Regions from separate parts of the Homo sapiens genome. Here region 2 is linked to region 1. Evidence: promoter capture Hi-C in human tissues and cell types (Jung and others, 2019). All regions are on one chromosome and are shown on one strand. Each heading gives the region's core, a stretch centred on a gene start or on the middle of the fragment in contact. The rest is flanking DNA. Distances are from core to core; before and after follow the strand shown.

Region 1 (6,000 bases), core at 949-3,448:
AGCCAGGATGGTCTCTATCTCCTGACCTCGTGATCTGCCCGCCTTGGCCTCACAAAGTGCTGGGATTATAGGCGTGAGCCACCGTGCCGGACACATTTGCATTTTTTAAAAAGAGACAGTTCTGGCCATGTTGGTCTCGAACTCCTGGCCTCAAGCAATCCTGCCTTGGCCTCCCAAAGTGCTAGGATTATGGGCGTGAGCCTCCGCACTCAGCCTAAATTTGCATTTTTAAGCGACTAAGTTTGAGATAATTTGTTATGCCAGCAGAAGAAAGCTAAGTTATCTTGGAGGTGATTTTTCTTTTTTTTTAGATGGAGTTTCTCTCTTGTTGCCCAGTTTGTCTCTTGGAGCCCCAGAGTGAAGGAGGCAGAACAGGCCCCAGGGCTCACCCCAGGCCGACCTCGGTGGGCTTGCGCAACACACAGGCATGATGTAGCCACCCTCCCATCCCCAGGCCCCCCTCAGCACTCCTCTTCGACTTTATTGACATTTATTTCCAAAACGTGACGATAGGCAAACTCAGATAAATGACACACATAGACCGCGTGAACCCTCTCATATTTACCAGATAATAAAATAGTAGCACTGACAAAGGCTCAATTTTTTTTTTTATTCTTCCCCAGAGACAGGCTCTGTTGCCCAGGCTGGTCTTGAACTCCTGGCCACAGGTGATCCTCCCACCTTTGTCTCCCAAAGTGTTGAGGTAAAAGGCATGAGCCACCGCACTCGGCCAATCTAATTTTTAAAAACACCTTTTCCTCACTGGCTGGAGCACGTTCTACTTTACTGGGAACTGAATGAATGTGCAACTCTAATTACAGCCCCTCCGAAGTGCAGTGGCTTGGGAACCTCCCGTTCCGGGAGGCGGCCTGCAGAGCCCTCCTCCTACAAGTGTGAGCACAGGGTCAGGGTTCCATCCAAGCGAGCACCTGCTTCCTATTTTCCGACTAATTTCGGTCCCCTGATACGGAATCCGGGATCCTGCAGACAGGCAGCGGGTGACAGCAAGCACAAGGGTGTTCGATGACACCTGGAGAGGTCAGGAGAGCCAGTCCTGCGGTGCAGAGGAAGAAACCCAGCACAGAGGCCAACAGAGCCAGCCCCAGCCTCTGCCAATAAAACATATAAATGAGCCCTGGGGGCTGGAGGAGGGCCACAGGATCCAAGCTGGCTGCCGGATCCGAGTGGGATCGGGGTGCCGACTGTGGGACATGGGTGGGATGGGGTGCCGGCTGCGGGACTCGGGTGGGATCGGGGTGCGGGCTATAGGACTGGGGCGGGATCGGGGTGTCATCTATGGGATCGAGGTGCTGGCTATGGGACTGGGGTGGGATCGGGGTGCTGGCTATGGGACTGGGGTGGGATCGGGGTATCAGCTATGCTATGCGATCGGGGTGAGTGCCGGCTGTGGGATCGGGGTGCCGGCTGCGGGACTGGGGTGGGATCGGGGTGCCGGCTGTGGGACAGCGGTGGGATCGGGGTGGGTGCCAGCTGTTGGGCTGGGGTGGGATCGGGGTGCCAGCTGCGGGACTGGGGTGGGATCGGGGTGCCGGCCGTGGGACAGCGGTGGGACCGGGGTGTTAGCTATGGGATTGGGGTGGGTGCCGGCTGTTGGGCAGGGGTGGGATCGGGGTGTCGGCTGTGGGACTGCGATAGGATCGGGGTGCTGGTTGTGGGACTGGGGTGACAGCTTGAGGGGTGACCGAGCCCTCCCGGCCGCTCCCGGATGCCCCTCGCCCTCCACGCTGGGAGCGCCGTGGCTGGCTGAGCCTCTGGCATGTTCCGCGTGAGTCCGCGCACCCTACAGCGTCCTCCTCCACAGCCTCGTGTTCAGGCGTCCGCCCCGCAGGGGAGTCCCCTCGCGCCCATTCACACACAGCAGCGTCCGGGCGAGGAGCGCCCGTACCTGGAGGCCTGAAGGTACCGCCCTGCCGCGCGTGGGCACTGCTCCCTGGCGCCGTCCGTCCACTGACCATCGTCCCTCGGCCCGGCCGCCCGCGCGGGGCAGGCAACGCCCGACCGGGGGCCTCGGGGACCAGGAGGAACCTGCGGCGTTAGGAGCTGACAGTGTCGGTCCGCGCACGCGCCCCGGGGCCCGTCGGGCCTTATTTCACGGCCCCGCCTTCCTCCTCCGCGAGCGCCAAATAAGTGTCCGGCCCTCCCAGCCCCGTGCGTGCGCGGCCCCGCCGCCTGCGTCACTAGGAAGCGCGCGCCCGCGCCGCCGCCGCCGCCGAATCCCCAACAAGGAGCGAAGCCCGCGGCCGCCGCCGCCGCCCGCCGCCGCCGCAGCTCCCGACGCCGCCGCCCCCGCCGGGTGCCTAAGCAGGCCCGGCGCGGCCCCAGGTAAGCGGCGCCGGCGAGCCCGCGGCCCCCCCGCGGCGAGGCCTCTCGCTCCGCTCACGCGCCGCCGTCCAGTCAGGGGTCCCTGCGGAGCGTCAGGACGTTACGGCGGGGGGAGGGGAGGGCCGGGGGAGGGGCGGCCGCGCGGGCGGCGGCGTCAGGCGCAACGGCGGCGTCAGGCGGGCGGCGCGGGCGGTGGCGGGCGCGGGCGGCGGCGCTTCCTGCCTCCATCTTGGCGCCGCGGGCGGGCGCGGGCTCGGCCTCCAGCGGCCTCCTCGGTGGACCCATCCCGGGGGGACCACGCCGCAGGGGTGCGACCCGCAGGGACCACCCCGCAGGCACCCGACCCGCAGGGACGCGACCCACAGGGACCACCCCGCAGGCACCCGACCCGCAGGGGCCACCACGCGACCCGCAGGGGCCACCCCACAGGGACGCGACCCACAGGGACCACCCCACAGGGACGCGACCCACAAGGACCACCCCGCAGGCACCCGACCCGCAGGGACGCGATCCCCAGGGGCCACCCCGCAGGCACCCGACCCGCAGGGACGCGATCCCCAGGGGCCACCCCGCAGGCACCCGACCCGCAGGGACGCGATTCCCAGGGGCCACCCCGCAGGCACCCGACCCGCAGGGACGCGACCCATAGGGACCACCCCGCAGGCACCCGACCCGCAGGGGCCACCCGGCAGGCACCCAACTCGCAGGGACGCGACCCGCAGGGATCACCCCACTGGGACCCACTCTCAGGGACCTGACCTGCAGGGACCACCCCACAGGGGCCCGCGTCACTGTAGGCTCACAGGCGGGACCTGGATCTGTGTAGACCCATGGTGGTGTGGACCCTGTTGGTCGGAGCTGATTTGTTGTGGGCCCGTCGTCAGTCATGGCATGTTATCTATTTGGTTACTGTGTAATTCATGCGTGACTGAAAAGTCGTGACTGACTTTTCTGTTGAACCAGAATTCTCTTTCTTTGCTAACACTTCAAATACAACAGTTTCAATTACATCAGTGTTGACCGTGCCGGTCAAGAATACTAGTTTAAAAATATTTTCTTGGGCCAGGTGTGATGGCTCACACCTGTAATCCCACCACTTTGGGAGCCCGACGTGGGCGGATCATGAGGTCAGGAGTTTGAGAGCAGCCTGGCTAACACGGTGAAACCCTGTCTCTACTAAAAATACAAAAGTTAGCCGGGCGTGGTGGTGTGCACTTGTAATCCCAGCTAGTTGGGAGGCTGAGGCAGGAGAATTGCTTGAACCCAGAAGGCAGAGGTTGCAGTGAGTGGAGATGGTGCCATTGCACTCCAGCCTGGGTGACGGAGCAAGATTGCGTCTCAAAAAAAAAAAAGTAAAATAAAATATTTTCTCATATCTGATTTACCTAATAATTTGGAAACTCACTTCACACTAGTGGGGAACCCAAGCCTTGGGATCAAAGCTGGGTGGGTCTTGGCTTCAACACAGAAGGGGCTGTGGAGAGGCCAGGTGTAGTGGCTCACACCTATAATCCCAGCACTATGGGAGGTCAAGGTGGGAGGATCACTGGAGGTCAGGAGTTCGAGACCAGCCTGGCCAACATGATGAAACCCCGTCTCTACCAAAAATGCAAAAATTAGCTAGGCGTGTTGGGTGCCTGTAGTCCCAGCTACTCGGGAGGCTGAGGCAGGAGAATCACTTCAACCCGGGAGGCGGAGGTTGCAGTGAGCCAAGATTTTGCCATTGCACTCCAGCCTGGGTGACAGAGCGAGACTCCATCTCAAAAAAACAAAGAAGGAGCTGTGGAGAGAGGAGGGGGTGCTCGCCCTTGGGAAGGCAATAGGGCGAGGTGCTCTATTCTATAGTGCTTCTTCTGTGTCTAAAGAGCATTGTATCAAGGACTTGCACTATTTTCTGTGAGGTAACTTTTGTGCATATTGCTTTGAACCTTTAATATAGTTGCCATTGGAGGCCAGGCTCAGTGGCTCACGCCTGTAATCCCAGCACTTTGGGAGGCAGAGGCGGGCGGATCACGAGGTCAGGAGATCGAGACTGTCCTGGCCAACATGGTGAAACCCCGTCTCTACTAAAAATACAAAAATTAGCCGGGCGTGGTGGTGGGCGCCTGTAATCCCAGCTACTCAGGAGGCTGAGGCAAGAGAATCGCTTGAACCCGGGAGGCAGAGCTTGCATTGAGCCGAGATCGGGCCACTGCAGTCCAACCTGGGCTACAGAGCGAGACTCCGTCTCAAAAAAAGAATATATGTATGTATGCAGTTGCCAATGGAGAGGCTGGAATTCAGTTTTGTGCGTGTACATTGCGTAATCCTCTGCAAAGCCCTGAAGCTGTGACGAGGACCCCTGCCTGCAGTGAGGCTGTTGCCTCTTTGCAGCTCTCTGCTTAAATGACTTTAGTTGCCCCTGCTGAGCTTACCCTTATGAAAGCAGCGTCTCCTCAGTGAGAGTTAAACCCCGAGAAGTCAGCACGGGAGATCAGTAGTATTTTAAATGAAATTTTTATTTTTTAATTTTAATTTTTTTTTTTTTGAGACAGAGTCTCGCTCTGTTGTCTAGGCTGGAGTGCAGTGGCACAATCTTGGCTCGCTGCAACCTCTGCCTCCGGAGTTCGAGAGATTCTCCTGCCTCAGCCTCCCAAGTAGGTGGGATTACAGGCACCCGCCACCATGCCCGGCCAATTTGTTTTTTTTTTTTTGTATTTTTAGTAGAGACAGGGTTTCATCATGGTGGCCAGGCTGGTCTTGAATTCCTGACCTCAGGTGATCCACCCGCCTCGGCCTTCCAAAGTGATGGGATTACAGGCGTGAGCCACCACGCCTGGCCAAATTTTTGAATTTTTTTTTTTTCTGAGACAGGGTCTTGCTCTGTCGCCCAGGCTGAAGTGTAGTGGTGCAGTCTTGGCACACTGCAGCCTCTGCCTCCCGGGTTCAAGCAGTTCTCTCACTTCAGCCTCCTGAGTAGCTGGGATTACATGGGCACACCACCACGCCCAGCTAATTTTTGTGTTTTCAGTAGAGACAAGGTTTTACCATGTTGGCCAGGCTGGTCTAACTCCTGACCTCAGGTGATCTGCTCGCCTCGGCCTCCCAAAGTGCTAGGATTATGGGCGTGAGCCACCACACCTGGCCTGAGTAAAATTTTAAAGTGGCTTTTTTTTTTTAAGAGAGAGTCTCACTCTGTCACCCAGGCTTGAGTGCAGTGGCATGATCTTGGCTCACTGCAACCTCTGCTGCCCAGGTTCAAGCGATTCTCCTGCCTCAGCCTCCCAAGTAGCTGAGATTACAGGCACCTGCCACCGCGCCCGGCTAATTTTTGTATTTTTAGTAGAGACGGGGTTTCACCGTATTGATCAGGCTGGTCTTTGAACTTCTGACCTTATGATCCACCCGCCGCGGCCTCCCAAAGTGCTGGGATTACAAGTGTGAGCCACCGCGCCCGGCCTAAAGTGGCTTTTTATTCATGTTTGTTTAAAGTTCTTTATTTTGAAGCCTAAGTCTACAACAACAAAGTTATGCTAGTGAAAACATTATATTTGAGAAATACGAAGTAATTCCGCCAGTGTAAACGAATTCATCATTGTAACTTTCCTGGCTAAAAAGCATCTGAAGACAGTCTTCAGAGACCCTGATGCCCTAATGGGAAATTGCCCACCAGCAGCT
Region 2 (6,000 bases), core at 1,432-3,931, 160 kb before region 1:
GGTTCAAGTGATTCTCCTGCCTCAGCCTCCGAGTAGCTGGGATTACAGGCTCCCGTGACCACGCCCGGCTAATTTCTGTATTTTTAGTAGAGACGGGGTTTCACCATATTGGCCAGGCTTGTCTCGAACTCCTGACCTCAAGCGGTCCGCCCGCCTCAGCCTCCCAAAGTGCTGGGATTACAGGCGTGAGCCAGTGTGCCGGGCCACAAAGTCCCTTTTCCTTCTTTCTTTTTCTTTTCTTTTCTTTTTTTTTTTTTTTGAGTCTCGCTCTGTTGCCGGGCTGGAGTGCAGTGGTGCAATCTCAGCTCACCGCAACCTCCACCTCCCAGGTTCACATCATTCTCCTGCCTCAGCCTCCCGAGTAGCTGGGACTACAGGTGCCCACCACCACGCCCGGCTAATTTTTGTATTTTTAGTAGAGACGGGGTTTCACCATGTTGGCCAGGACGGTCTCGATCTCTTGACCTCGTGATCCGCCTGCCTCGGCCTCCCAAAGTGCTGGGATGACAGGCGTGAGCCACCACGCCCGGCCACAAAGTCTCTTTTCTAAGGACACATGTCAAGTGGTCACCGTGGATCATTCGACGCCGATGCCCCAACCCCTCTGTGCATCATCCCGGCCCCTGGTGACCCTGAGGCCTGTTTGCTTTTAAGAGTGATTTTCTAGGCAGGGAGGCCAAATTCATTCTAACTGAGCAGCTTCCAAGAAACAGTATCCCTTGAAATTTATTTCTGAGTTACAGCAGTTCACTTCTATGAGAGCTTGTGGGAAATAGCATTAAAATGTTCAGATTCATGTTTGCAGCTATGGGGCAGGCAGGCAGGCCCGTGCCTCCCCAGGCCCTGGCGTCTCCTTCTCATCTGCGGAGGGAGCACAGTAAGGACCTGAGAGGTGACTGGTGAGGCCTTGACAAAGTGGATGTGTAGCTACTGCATGAGAAGATGGTAAAGAAACAGCCCAGGTGCCCCAACTAAATGGCCCCACACATGCCTAAGCGGTGCTGCTACAGGAGGATCTGTGTGTTCTGTGAAGTGTGTACTTGAACCCTGGTGAGGTGGGAGCTTGACATGTTGGGATTTTTAAGCGTACATCAGAACTGCGGGAGCTCCAGATGGGGGACAATGGCCTCTCGGGTGCCTAGCACTGCCTGCAAGCCTCCTGTCTGCTCCGGGAGGGGAGTGAGGGTCCCAGCTCTCAGGGTAGGGTGGTCTTCGAGCTGCTTCTTGGACCAGGCCGGCCTGCCTCCGGCGGGTCTCAGGGTTTCTCTCCCTTGTGCTGACAGCAGCTCCTCACCGCCCCCAGAGCTCTTTGCTGGGGATAAAGCAGGAACTGGTGAGCGGAGGGGGCCGTGGCTGTGTCCCCTTCTGGTGTTCCCTCTTTCTCTCCACGAAGGTTGGGGAGGAGGACCCCCACCACGGTCTCAGCCGTCCTGATCACACGAGGGCAGGGAGTTACCTCTGAGGTTACGTCCCTGCAGGGACTCCTGTCCTGAGTGTGCGTGGCATCTCGGCCCTCCTGGTGCCCGACGGAATGTGAGGTTCCCCCACCTGGCCTCCTGAACAATGTTTCGCCTCCTGAACACCTTTCACAGCCTGTTTCAGCAGCACGGCAGATCTGATTGTTCTGTTGAAGAAAATTTCCTGCACTTGGGATGGTCTTTTTATTTTTTGGGTGGAAGGGTTTCAACCAAAAGATGACATCATGTGCTTTGGTCAGTAGTGGGGTGGGAAGGGCGTCCGGCTCCGCACCCCGATCCCACAGCTGCTCGGGAGATGCTTGGCTTGGCCTCTTTTAATCCACTCCCCTGTTCAGTCCTGTCCTGGGAAGCTTGAGAACTCAGCTGCGCCTTCTCTAGATGTTTTTGCTTTCAGGTATGAACAGAATTACCTGCAATCAGCTTTGATCACATTACAGTCTGTTGGGGAGCAGCTGGTGACGGGGACAGAGACAATAACACCCTTCACAGGAACGTGCTGTTTTTTGTTTTTGTTTTATTTTTAAAAAAATTCTGCACTCGGCACTGGACAGAGTATTTTTTGTTTTTGTTTTTGTTTTGAGACGGAGTCTCGCTCGGTCGCCAGGCTGGAGTGCAATGGCGCGATCTCGGCTCACTGCAATCTCTGCCTCTCGGGTTCAAGTGATTCTCCTGCCTCAGCCTCCCGAGTAGCTGGGACTACAGGCACGTGCCACCACGCCCAGCTGATATTTTGTATTTTTAGTAGAGACGGGGTTTTGCCATGTTGGCCAGGCTGGTCTCAATCTCTTGAACTTGTGATCCACCCACCTCAGCCTCCCAAAGTGCTGGGATTACAGGCATGAACCACCACGCCCAGCTGTGTTTTTTGTTTTTTTTAAGACAAGGTCTCACTCTCTTGCCCAGGCTGGAGTGCAGTGGTACAATCTCGGCTCACGGCAGCCTCAACCTCCTGGGCTCAGGTGATCCTCCCACCTCAGCCTCCTGAGTAGCTGGGACTATGGGCGTGCGCCACCACGCCTGGCTAATTTTTAAAAATGTTTTTTATAGAGATGTAGATCTCACTATGACGGGAGACGGGATCTCACTATGTTGCCCAGGCCAGTCTCAAACTCCTGGGCTTAGCGATCCTCCCGCCTGGGCCTCCCATGGTGCTGGGATCACAGGTGTGAGCCACTGCCTGGCCAACTGAACTTTTAACGCAGCCACTCGGCAGGGTGTCCTTGCATCTCTGGCTTTGCTCCTTGTCCTGGTGTGGGAGGGACTCACGGCCGCAGCCAGCAGCAACACTGCTCCTCACCTGTGGGTGTGGGGCGTGGGTCGTGGGGCATGGGGCGTGGCTGCAGCCTGTTCTGTGGTTGTCTGGATGTGGGCGTTTGGGTGTCAGGCTCAGGGCTGTGAGGCTCTCCTGCAGGTGTCTTTTGTGGCTTTTGTGCTTTTGGCAAGCACCTGGCTCCTGATGGCTGCTGTAATAAATGACCAGACTTATTGTCAGAGCAATGCACGTTTTGTCTCACGGTTCTCTGAAGTCTGAAGCAGCCGGCAGGGCTGCATCCCCTGGAGCTCCAGGGGAGTCCATGTGCCTCTTCTGGCTTCTGGAAGCCATAGCATCCTTGGCTCGTGGCCCGACATCATTCCTGCCCCTTCCCATCCTCGCTTCTGTCACCCTCCTGCCTCCTTCTCTGCTGACGGGGCCCTGGTGGGTCCGTTTAGGGCCCACGTGGCTCATCCAGGACTCATCGTGAGATCCTGAACCGAATCAGGTCTGCGGAGTCGTTCTGCCACAAGGTGGCAAAACCACGGCTCGGGGGTTGCAGCCTGGGCGTCTCTGCAGGAGTCATTGGCTCACCACTGGGGGTTTGCATACAGTAGCCGGGGATTTTGGTGAAAATCGCCACGCCTCTTTTCTTTTTTTTTTTTTTGAGACGGAGTCTTGCTCTTTCACCCAGGCCTGAGTGCAGTGGCGCCATCTCGGCTCACTGCAAGCTCCGCCTCCCCGGTTCATGCCATTCTCCTGCCTCAGCCTCCTGAGTAGCTGAGACTACAGGCACCCACCACCACGCCTGGCTAATTTTTTTTGTATTTTTAGTAGAGACGAGGTTTCACCGTGTTAGTCAGGATGGTCTCGATCTCCTGACCTTGTGATCTGCCCACCTCAGCCTCCTAAAGTGCTGGGATTACAGGCGTGAGCCACCGCGCCCGGCCTCTATTTTTTTTTTGACAGAGTCTCGCTCTGTTGTCCAGGCTGGAGTGCAATGGCACGATCTTGGCTCACTACAACCTCTGCCTCCTAGGTTCAAGCAATTCTCCTGCCTCAGCCTCCCGAGTACCTGGGATTACAATCACCCAGCACCACCCCTGGCTGATTTTTTGTATTTTTAGTAGAGACGGGGTTTGGCCGTGTTGGCCAGGCTGGTCTCGAACTCCTGACCTCAGGTGATCCGCCTGCCTCGGCCTCCTACAGTGCTGGCATGACAGACGTGAGACGCCACACCTGGCTTCTCTATGGTCTTTGATTTGCATTTCTTTGATGGCGGATGATGCCATTCATATATCTTTTTTGGTAAAGTGTCTGTCCAGGTCTTTTTGCCGTGTTTCGATTGGGCTGTCTACGTGGTGACCGTGAGGCTCTGGCCGAGTGAGTGTCGTGGCTCAGCTGGCGGTGATGAGCATCGGGCACCTGCTCCACATCTGGGTCTCTTCCTTGGGGAAGTGTCTGTTCAGATCTTCTGCCCATCTTTTATTACTGAGTGGTGAGAGTTCCTAGGTGTTCTCGTTCCAAGTCCTTCATCAAGTATGTGCTTTGAAAATATTTTCTCTTGGCCTTTGGCTCCTTTTTTCTTTCTTTTTTTTTTTTTTTTTTTTTTTGAGGCAGAGTCTTGCTCTGCCACCCAGGCTGGAGTGCAGTGGCACCATCTTGGCTCACTGCAAACTCTGCCTCCTGGGTTCACGCCATTCTCTTGCCTCAGCCTCCTGAATAGCTGGGATTACAGGCACCCGCCACCGCGCCCAGCTAATTTTTGTATTTTTTTTTTTTTTTTTAGTAGAGATGGGGTTTCACCATGTTGGTCAGGCTGGTCTTGAACTCCTGACCTCATGATCCACCCGCCTTGGCCTCCCAAAATGTTGGGATTACAGGCGTGAGCCACTGTGCATGGCCTCCTTTTTTCATTTAACAGTGTCTCTTCAGGAGGATCCTTTTTTTTTGAGACGGAGTATCATTCTGTCGCCCAGGCTGGAGTGCAGTGGTGCAATCTCGGCTCACTGCAAGCTCTGCCTCCTGGGTTCACACCATTCTCCTGCCTCAGCCTCCCGAGTAGCTGGGACTACAGGCGCCCGCCACCACGCCCGGCTCATTTTTTGTATTTTTAGTAGAGACGGGGTTTCACCATGTTAGCCAGGATGGTCTTGAACTCCTGACCTCGTGATCCGCCCGCCTCAGCCTCCGAGAGTGCTGGGATTACAGGCATGAGCCACCGTGCCCAGCCAACAAAGACTTTCTCCTATGGTTTTTCTTGAGTTTTTATCAATTTAAGTATAACGCATAGCTCCATGATTCAAGTTGGTTTTTTTGTATGTGGCGTGAGATCAGCTTGAGGTTCACTTTTTACATAGGATTATAAGGTTGTTCCAGTGCTGCTTGCTAAGAAACCTGTCTTTTATCCATTGAGTTACCTTGCTAACTACTATATACATAAAATTAATGAGAATTTCTTTTATCTGTCTTTTTTTTTTTTGAGATGGAGTTTCACTCTTGTTGCCCAGGCTGGAGTGCAATGGTGTGATCTCGGCTCACCGCAACCTCTGTCTCCCTGGTTCAAGCGATTTTCCTGCCTCAGCTTGCCGAGTAGCTGAGATTACAAGCACGCACCGCCATGCCTAGCTAATGTTTTGTATTTTAGTAGAGACGGGGTTTCACCGGGCTGGCCAGGCTAGTCTCAAACTCCTGACTTCATGATCCACCCATCTCGGCCTCCCAAAATGCTGGGATTACAGGCATGAGACACTGTGCCTGGCGGAAACCCAAATTTTAGCATTTCACACAAGGGAGAGTTCTTTCAGCTTATCCTGATTTCTTTTATGTGTTTTTCACCTTGATTTGTTACAATAATTTAGATTTAAAATTTGGCTTTAAAATTGGGTGATTTTGGCCAGGCATGGTGGCTCATGCTTGTAATCCCAGCACTTTGGGAGTCTGAGGTGGGCAGATCACCTGAGGTTGGGAGTTTGAGACCAGCCTGACCAATGTGGTGAAACCCCGTCTCTACTAAAAATACAAAAATTAGCGGCCGGGCGCGGTGGCTCACAGGCCTGTAATCCCAGCACTCTCGGAGGCTGAGGGGGGCGAATCACGAGGTCAAGAGATCGAGACCATCTTGGCTAACACGGTGAAACCCCGTCTCTACTAAAAATACAAAAAATTAGCCAGGTGTGGTGGCAGGCGCCCTGTAGTCCCAGCTACTCAGGAGGCTGAGGCAGGAGAATGGCGTGAACCTGGGAGGCGGAGCTTGCAGTGAGCCAAGAT

The links. The method cuts DNA at HindIII sites, captures the fragments that hold promoters and counts their contacts. A contact is called where the count stands out against the background at its distance.
Region 2: a contact is called between a fragment that was not itself captured here and the fragment with the promoter of GMEB2 in region 1, in 2 of the 25 tissues and cell types used here (dorsolateral prefrontal cortex and spleen).

The regions. Positions count from the first base shown.
Region 1 is chr20:63,623,299-63,629,298 of GRCh38, reverse strand. GMEB2 (glucocorticoid modulatory element binding protein 2) reads left to right here and starts at 2,198. Exons shown (of 10, transcript NM_012384.5): 1 at 2,198-2,343. It overlaps MHENCR (melanoma highly expressed competing endogenous lncRNA for miR-425 and miR-489), which reads right to left and starts at 2,064. Exons shown (of 2, transcript NR_132417.1): 1 at 1,907-2,064; 2 at 475-1,109. RefSeq lists silencers at 1,757-2,206, 2,297-2,836. The HindIII fragment of the contact is 46,766 bases long and covers 1-6,000 here.
Region 2 is chr20:63,779,484-63,785,483 of GRCh38, reverse strand. All of the region lies in intron 2 of ZBTB46 (zinc finger and BTB domain containing 46), which reads left to right. Among named protein-coding and RNA genes, the nearest start is that of ZBTB46-AS1, 26 kb to the left of the region's middle. RefSeq lists an enhancer at 3,085-3,144. The HindIII fragment of the contact is 3,748 bases long and covers 808-4,555 here.